Linked DNA regions of Homo sapiens: region 1 is linked to region 2. Evidence: promoter capture Hi-C in 16 types of primary human blood cells and fetal thymus (Javierre and others, 2016). All regions are on one chromosome and are shown on one strand. Each heading gives the region's core, a stretch centred on a gene start or on the middle of the fragment in contact. The rest is flanking DNA. Distances are from core to core; before and after follow the strand shown.

Region 1 (4,891 bases), core at 2,104-4,603, 110 kb before region 2:
GCACAGTGGCTCACTGCCTGTAATCCCAGCACTTTGGGAGGCTGAGGCGGGTGGATCACGAGGTCAGGAGATCGAGACCATCCTGGCTAACACGGTGAAACTCCGTCTCTACTAAAAAAAAAAAAAAAAAAATTAGCCGGGCGCAGTGGCGGGCGCCTGTAGTTCCAGCTACTCGGGAGGCTGAGACAGGAGAATGGCGTGAACCCGGGAGGCGGAGCTTGCAGTGAGCCGAGATTGCGCCACTGCACTCCAGCCCGGGCGACAGAGTGAGACTCCGTCTCAAAAAAAAAAAAAAAAAAAAAAAAAAAAACTCTTAGCCTTCTCTATTTCAAGTGGTCATTGGGAAGGTAAAATGACTTGGTAAAGGTAAAGTGCTTGGTATAGTGCCTGGCACATACTAACTGCTCAATTAATGTTTGAAATTATAATTCTTTTCTCAGAATGTAAGTACCAGTAAGGCAATGAAAACAAGCCATCAGAACAGACACCTATTGGTAACGGCACTGGGTCCTGAGGGGCCCAGCTAGGAATTACCCTCGTTCGCTATCTTTTGGCTACTTCTCTGGCCTTTGCCCCAACTATTACCAAGGCAGAAAATGCAGTATGCTGGATCTCTACAAAGCTGGCTTACCTCCTTGAAGCCTTCCAGGGTCACCCACACCAAAGTAACCCCTTGGTCACTATCACATCACCATATTTTATTTTCACAGCACCCAGCATTATGTGATATTTTCTTGTTGATATATTTGTTTTCTGTCTTCCCTCACTAAAGGCAAGCTCTGCGTTATAGGAACTATCTCACTCCCAGAATGGGAATCAGTACCTGAAACATCAGAGGTACAAATGTTTGTGGGAGAAGGGAGAGAGGTCAGGGGAAAGAAAGGGGAAAGGCAGGGAAGGCAGATAGATGGGCACTTGTAAAGTCAACAGGTGTAACTATTTCTCCCTCTTCCAACCCCCTCAGCACTTTGTATTTCACCATGTAGTTTGGGTATGCATCGGTTTACTCCTGCCCTTGCCATACCGAAGCTCCCTGAGAGTTGGGATTTTCTGTAGCCCCTGGCACGGTGCCCCACACCATTAGAGGATTCATCAGTAGTTATTGCTTAAAGGATCTATAATTCCATTTCTTTGGAGCAATTTACAATGATCGGATAAAAGAATGTTCAATTATTTAACAGCGTAAAGTACAAAGCAGGATGTATTTTCATTTCCATCTTTTCAGAATTAAGCAGAAGGAAAGCAATGCAATTCATTACAGTTATCAAATAATTATTAGTTTTCCAGGGCCATTCACCCATGTCAGTGGCTGTGAACCTAGGTAAGGAAAGCTTAGTCCTCCGTTATACTAGTGGGAACAATTGAGGTTCTCCAGCACTGAGGAGCAAAATGAGATGTGGTATTCATGTTATTTAGTTGTACCAAGGGAATCTGGTGGGCTAATAACTCTGAATGTCTTCCTAGGTATGACGCTCAGGCTATGATAAGTAAAGGGGATGGTAGGAACCCATAATGCTCCACGCAAAGCTCAAAAAGGGATTATTTTGTCATTTTAAAATCTTCATGAAAGTCTTGAATTCTTCCCATTTTCCCAAATTGAGAGATAAGAGTCTGAAAGATAATTTAGCAGGTTTAAAAAGATAGATGTATTAGACCTAGAAACATATTTTACGGTCTTCCTCCCCAAATTGTACTATAAACAACCAGAAACTTACTTTTATTCTCATTGTACACTCATTCATTCATTCATTCACATATTCAACATGCATTTACTTGGTGCCAACCATGTGCAGGTGCCTGTGCTTGAGCAGTGGGGAGATGCCAAACGAGACACCTCTAGCCTGGAATTGCCCATGACCTGGGGAGAGAGAGCATGGGCAAAGGGCCCAAGGCCAGAGCATGCCTGGCGTGTCTGAGAATCAGCAAGGGCAGTGGCCAGGGTGGAGTCTGTGAGGAGGAGGGGGAGTGAATGAAGTCAGAGTGTTAGAGGACAGGGAGACCATTTGGGCTCTTGCAATAATCTAAGCATGAGATAACCGTGGCCTGGACCAGGGTAGTGGAGGTCTAGATGGTGAGCCATGGTCAGATGCTGGATGTACATTGAAGGCTTATTGTGGCCACAGGTGGGATAAAACCCTTAATCTCAAGGCTACGCTTGCTCTGTTATGGGAAATTGCATTTATATATTACATGTTGTAATTACAGAACTATGTTTGCAGTAGGAAAATAAGTGTAGTTGCCCAAAGCAGTAACGTACAGCCATCACGCGCCACCCTGCTGACTCTTTTTCTGTAACTTCATTTGTATCTGAGTGGCTTCACTTCACTTGTTATTCAGAAAGCCTCGATACCCTTTGTGTTGACGTTTGGTTACAGGTATGTAACCTGTTTGTAATCAACTTTGTGACACTAAGAGATTTATTTCTAAACAGCAACATAAATTCAAAATTTTCCCTAAGTGCCAAATCTATCATTTGCAGACATGTATGGGTGGAACTGAGATTCACTAACATTTACTGGGCGTTTAATACATGCCAAGTACTACATTGGGGCACTCACAGAACTGTTATGAATTGATCTTTCCAATAACTTCAAAAGAAGTAAATTTAAGTGTACATATTAAAATTTCCAAGTTTCCAAATATAGGCCAAGATTCCAAAAGTCTTTCCTTTGCTCTGCAATATATACTTACTCAGTGACATCACGTCATCTGCTGTTAGTGAGCACTGGTGAAGATCTAGGACTTGTAGATGCTTTAGCATGACCAACTGAGCCGGCGAGTCTTCAAAACCTCCACCTAGATCCTTATTGCAGGAAAGATCTAATTTCCTCAGCTCACCCAAATACCTAAAAGCAGCATCTACAAAGAAAGTCAGAATCCCATTCTGGTAGCTGGACACAGTGGTGTACCTATAGTCCCAGCTGCTAGGGAGACCAAGGCAGGAGGATTGCTTGAGCCCCGGAGTTCGAGTCCAGCTTGGGCAGCATAGTGAGATCCATCTCTTAAAAAAAGAAAAACCGGGCTGGGCGTGATGACTCCCATCTGTAATCCTAGGACTTTGGGAGGCTGAGAGGGTGGATCACAGGGTCAGGAGTTCAAGACCAGCCTGGCCAAGATGGTGAAACCCCATCTCTGCTACCATTCTGACATATCGCAAGGTGGTAAGAAGGTGTGGAACAGGGGTGGGGCCATGGTGCAGTAAGGGAGGTTGAGGGAACACACTGTGTTCACAAAAGACAAAAGGAGGAATAAGTGTAGACTTCCTACCATCTGGCCTTCTGTGAACCCGACCATGATTTCACACACACGCTTCCTAAGATCTGCATACATTGCCAAGGGTTTTGACATGAATCCTGCAACTACACTTGAGCATCCTCTCCTATTACACTTGAGCATTGGAGTTTACATAGATTTTTAGACTTATTCAAGCTGCCAGTGAATATTACAGGTTCTGTAAGTTGAAGGGGAAACACAATATCATTTCCTATTCTCTGTTAATATGGATACTATATACAGAGGAGTAAGTTTTAACTGTGGACGCCATCGAAGCCGTTCTTTTTATCAGTACCTATTCCTTCCTACTACTGAGCATAAAATAATGCTGACACTTTCAAAAGAGAAAACCTAGTAGTTCTAGCAGCAAAGAAACTTTATTTTTCCCAGTGTTTATCTTAACCTAAAATATACTGGCCTTTTCAGAGTCAGTCATACTAAAGGCTTATTTTTATAATCATGAAAGTGTATGTTCTCTATAAAATATTTAGAAAATAAATAAAATATAAAATATGTATATATTTTTGAGATGGAGTCTCTTCTGTCACCCACATCGGCTCGCTGCAACCTCACCTCCTGAGTTCAAGCAATTTCTCCTGCCTCAGCCTCCCAAGTAGCTGGGATTACAGGCGCACGTACCACCACGCCCAACTAATTTTTGTATTTTTAGTAGAGATGGGGTTTCACCATGTTGGCCAGGCTGGTCTCAAACTCCTGATCTCAAGTGATCCGCCTGCCTCAGCCTCCCAAAGTGCTGGGATTGCAGATGTAAGCCACTGTGCCCAGCCTAAAGGAGATTTCAATTACCCATAATCTTATTCCCCAGCACAACCACTGTTTATATTTTGCTATATTTCCTAGTAACTTTTCAATATATATATTTATATGTATATCATATATAATTATACATGTAATCTTAAATCCAGCCATTGTTAACTCACCCAATATTTTGACACTCTTTTGTGATAATCCACATGAATGTAACTTCAGTACTTTCAGATTTGAGGTGCTTTTTAATCCCTGAGCAATACTGTTCAGACTGCCAACAATGTCTCTGTTAATGGAAAGATCAAGTACTTCGAGACTTTGCAGCATAGGTAGCAGTTGACCTAGAAGGAAAGAAATCCAAATAAGAAGGGTAGGTAGGAGGGGAGTGGAGTTTTACATCACCTGGGGATATCGTGACGTAAAACTCCACTCCCCTCCTACATACCCTTCTTTAAATTCAGAATAAGACAAAACACAGCAAACTTCCCAAGCTATCCAGTGGGCATCTTCACTTTTTTTTTTTCTCTTCAAATTCCACTTACCCAGAAATGTCCCATCTTCTGACGTGAGGGAGCAATCCACAAGCTCAATCATTTGTATCTTGCTCCCTTTTTGGAACTTCTGAAGGATCAGAGGCAAATTTCCTCCCACTTTACTGTTCCAAGACAAATTTAGCTCTTCAAGTTCAGGAATCATCTCAAATGCTTCTCCTGTTAACAAATGGCCCGAAAATTCTGTTGGTCACTAGTCAGAAAAGCAGGGAATTCATTTCAGAATCAGCACAACCATGATTAATGGAGTGTGGAAACTGGGCCAGGTACTGTCCTGTTTGGCACCGAGGAACAGAGAG
Region 2 (4,408 bases), core at 1,325-3,824:
GTAAAGAGCATAGAAGTGAGGAGAACAATTAAAAGGCCATTGCAATACTAGTTCACGTAGGTGATGATAAGGACTTGAACAAGGCAATGGTAATGGGAATGATAAGGGAGGGAAGAATTCCAAATATCTCAGCTGTAGAATCAACAGGATTGGTGACTGACTGGCAGAAAGGCATGGTTGGGATGCATCCAAGGTTTCTAGCATGAGTAATTGAGTGAACAACGATGTAGTTATTAGATTTTTACAGTAAAAGGGGCAGGTTTTGCTGGGGAAATGGTGATTTTTAGTTGGACATCCAGTGGAAACATCCAGAAGAAATCTGGAATTAAACATGAATGCAGTATTTTGGAATTAATCTGTAAACAGAATGCACAAATAGAAGAGACAAGAGGAAGGTGAACATATAAAAACGGTGGCCAGGAACATGTGAGAATTGGGTAAAAGGAGAGAAGTCAACGAGAAATCAGAAAGAAGTTGATATACATGCCAAAGAAGGAAAAGAAGTCAAGAAGAACAGTCAATATTGTCAAATACTGAGTAAGATGCCAGCTGAGAGAAGGTATTGGGTTTGACAAAATAATTGTTACTGGATGGTGGAGGTAGAAACCAAATTGTTGTAATCTAAGGAGTGAATGACAGAACAAGAGGACACTAAATTAAAGCTCTGCTGATGAAGAAAATAGTAAGGCAGTAACTTGAGGATGAGTCATTGTCTATAAAGGATTTTTATTCCCCACCATAGTCCTAACCTAACATTTGACATCTATCTAGTAGGCACTCAATACCTACTGAATGCAATAATATTTTCATTTATAGACCAGGTCTCCTATAAAATAGTCCAGTGTTTATGTCCACATAAAACAGCACAAAACAGATTCATCATTCTGGGTGGGTAGAGGGATTGAAGGAAATAAAGACATTTCATATTCTATATTATGTTTTGGGTTAATTGGCAAGAATAATTACTTCTTTCTCACCCCATCCCTGACTATACACACACCCAAATTATAGATTATAGAGGAGAAAGGAATTAAATGACTCCTGAGACCAGAACTGCATAGTCCAAAAAAAAAAAAAAAATTCAGCAATCTTACTTTATTAAAAAATTAGGCATCAAGATGCTGCAATTTGCCTTACTTACATATTTAATTGCTCTTAGGTTAGATATATAATATGGGAAACCTGGAAAAAAATTTTAATGGTATAATAAACGCTTACAACCTAACATTAAGTGAAAAAAGCAGCTGCCTTATTGCATATGATCTCAATTTGGGAAACAGGAAAAAATATAAATACAAACACACATGCACACACACACACAAAGTCAGAATACTATAAGAAAATAAACTGAACGGTCACAGTGGCTCACGCCTGTAGTTCCAGTTACTCAGGAGACAGAGACAGGTGGATCGTTTTGAGCCCAGGAGTTCAAGACCCGCCCGGGCAACATAAGGAAACTCCATCTCCACACAAAAAAAGTAAAAATTAGCCAGGTGTGGTGGCTCATGCCTGTAGTTCCAGCTACTCAGGAGGCTGAGGAGGGAGATCAGTTGAGACGAGGAGTTCGGTGATGCAGTGAGCCGAGACTGCGCCACTGCACTCCAGCTTGGGCAATATAGAGCGAAACTCAGCATCAAAAAAAAAAGAACATCTTTCTATTCTGAATTTTCCCAATTTTCTACAATTAAAAACGCTTTAAAGATCTCTATAAAGTCAGTCAAGGGAATTTCTATCTAAGCACTTACCAGCAATTTGAGCTCCTTCTCTTTTGGTCTAGGTGGCTCTAAAATAACAATAAAGGCTACAGTGATTGAAATTCACCAGACTTGAAATAGACTGCAGCCTTCTTCCTTCCCACCTTCTTAGAATCTTTGTCCTATTCATCTTCCTTACGCTTCCCCGGGTTCTCTTACTTCTGGATTCTAACAGTGAGTTGTGAGAAGCAACGCGGAAAACGGAATGGAGACTCCAGCTTGTTTTAAACGAGCTGTATTACCCCGCACAGTGCAGGAGAAAAGATAATTGGCTCAGGTCTCGGCTCTGCCATCTACCACCTGTGGAGCCTTAGATAAGTCAGTTCTTATCTCTGTCACTCAACGGTCTCGGTCTTGTCATCTTTTACATGGAATGTCATGAAATATACAGTACATTGCAGGAACTGCCTCAGGTAAAGACTTCTAGGGTTCAGTAGGTCTCAGTCGATCCCTCTGAGAAAGGCCGCACCCTAAATGCACAGACTCTGACTCTAAGGGGATGGGGTCGGGGAATCTGCATTTTAGTAGCTTCTCAGGTGATTCAGATGCTCAGTCAGGATTGAGAAACCAGGACTCTTCCCAGCCCTCCTGTTCTCTGATCCACTTCTCTGCTTCCTCCACGTCCTAACGATTCTCCAGTTCCCGCACAGCAGGAGCGGAGGGAAGAGGGGAGAGAAGGCACCGCTAAGGACCGCTGGCCCCGCCAGGCGGCCGACCTCCCCATTCCAGGGGCGCCAGCCGGCGGATTACATAACGGGCCTCGGGGCGCGTTCTCGCGAGGTTTCCACCGCCCCCTCCTCGCTCCACGTCAGAGGGAACCGGGCGGAGCGGCCAACATGGCGGAACGCAGGAGACACAAGAAGCGGATCCAGGTAGCAAAGCCGAGCTCTGGGCAGGGGGCTTCGGCGCGCTGGATAGTGGAAGGGGCGGGGAAAGCCCCCTAAAAGGGCGAGCGAAAGCAAGGGCGAGGTGGGGTGGGGTGGGGTGGGGTTCCGCCGCGAGGCAGCTGGCTGCAGGCTGCGCGTTGTGAGGGGCCTGAGGGGGGGCGGTGTTGGCGACGGCGGAGACAGAGACGGAGGTGGTGGTGGAGCAGCAGGGGAAGGAAGGAGGCGCCGCGCTCAGAATCCGGCTGCGGAGGCGCGGCTGTGGGCCTGGAGTTCCTGTGGTCGCGCTGTCCCGGGCCTGAGCTGGAAGGTCAGCCTCCCCTGGGGCGCAGACGCTGACCCTTCCCGGGGCTCCTCCCCTCCCTTCACCCCATCCTCTGGCCTTAGCTGGCCTGAAATTAAGGCCACGGTAATAGGGGTAGCAGGAGGCGGCGGACTGACCTAAAGCAGCTGGTTCTTTGTGCGCATAGACCGTAAGGGGGAATGATCTGGACTTGGTCAGCTGCCTCGGGGCCTAGGCAGGGATCTGCTCATCCAGATGTTCAGTTGCGTTGCCCTTCTTTCCCTTCAATATTATTAACTTAATAGTCCACTTGAAGCTTGCCGGCTTTTTTCCGGGCGACGTGGTGTAAACAACCACAACCTCGTTGGTGCTGCAACGAGCTGGTGGAGCCCAGAAACCTTTCACATGCCAGTGTGTCATCCTCGTAGTAACGTACATAACATCTCCCCCTAATTCCACATGCGTGTCATTTGTGCATTTCTTCCTTGCGATTTTCCCTGGTTCTTGTTCTTTGCCAAGAGGATTAATTATGTAGAACATCTTGGACTCAGGATATTTATTAGTCGTCTCATCAGCTGATGTGCTGAGAAACCTTCATAAGCCCTCAAATTGATCACATGTAGTAAATTGTTACTATAATCATAAATTGTTACATTCATCATTGCCTTTCTGTTCCTTACTATTTCATTGCTTAGAATGATTTTTTCTTTCTTCCATTTTATCCCTTCTTTTTTTTTTTAAGTTTATCGATTTATTGGCGTACAATACAGATGTTTTGAGCTATGCAAGTTAAAATTCTTCTGTAAACTTTTTAAGTGCTGTGAAAAAGACACACATGATCAGTAAATTTGGAATTTTGGAATTTGGCAGAAATAAAGTAGTTCCGAACAGGGTGCAGAAGGGAATTAGAAAGAGGCAGATTTCGAGTTCAGACAGATAAGACTAGGTCTTAAGATCAGTAGAAGTTTCTAATTATACTGTTCTTAATCTTTCAAGAGTTAGTGTTATTCCTCTGACGTGGGTATACAGTATTTTATTAGATTGTATATTGAAATTGTCTGTCAGATTTGTACTTACAGAACTCCTTAGATTTACACTTGACAGTACAATTTTATGCCCTTCAATACACATTGTTTTACAATTCCAGTTGCTCTTTAATATTGTTGTAAGGGCTATATAATTCACCTTTTGAATAGCTGCTCTTATTTAGTTGTGATCTTATATTAAACAGAGGCTGTGGAGTAATGTGACAGTGGCAGAGAGCTAAAACTTGAGCCAAACTGCCTGTTTGTACCCCACCTCCACCAATTATTGGCTGAGTAACTTTGAGCAAGTTAATTTTTACCTCCCTGTCTGCATCGGTAAGAAAACATATTTACCTCAAAAAAAAAAAAAGCAAGAAAAAAGAAAAACTTTAAGATTGCTGTGAAAATAATAGGTGAGTCAACTTATTTATTAAAAGTTATTAAAAGTGTTTGGCACGCAGC

Evidence for each region. The method cuts DNA at HindIII sites, captures the fragments that hold promoters and counts their contacts. A CHiCAGO score of 5 or more calls a contact.
Region 1: a contact is called between a fragment that was not itself captured here and the fragment with the promoter of SEC62 in region 2, in 2 of 17 cell types (total B cells and naive B cells). The highest score is 11.6, in total B cells.

The regions. Positions count from the first base shown.
Region 1 is chr3:169,852,122-169,857,012 of GRCh38, forward strand. LRRC31 (leucine rich repeat containing 31) reads right to left here. Exons shown (of 9, transcript NM_024727.4): 4 at 4,584-4,751; 5 at 4,215-4,382; 6 at 2,692-2,859. Among named protein-coding and RNA genes, the nearest start is that of LRRC31, 15 kb to the right of the region's middle. The HindIII fragment of the contact is 4,049 bases long and covers 1,330-4,891 here.
Region 2 is chr3:169,964,233-169,968,640 of GRCh38, forward strand. It overlaps SEC62 (SEC62 preprotein translocation factor), which reads left to right and starts at 2,575. Exons shown (of 8, transcript NM_003262.4): 1 at 2,575-2,626. The coding sequence starts at 2,591. It also overlaps the pseudogene FHL1P1. RefSeq lists enhancers at 2,254-2,693, 4,250-4,408. The HindIII fragment of the contact is 8,040 bases long and covers 1-3,235 here.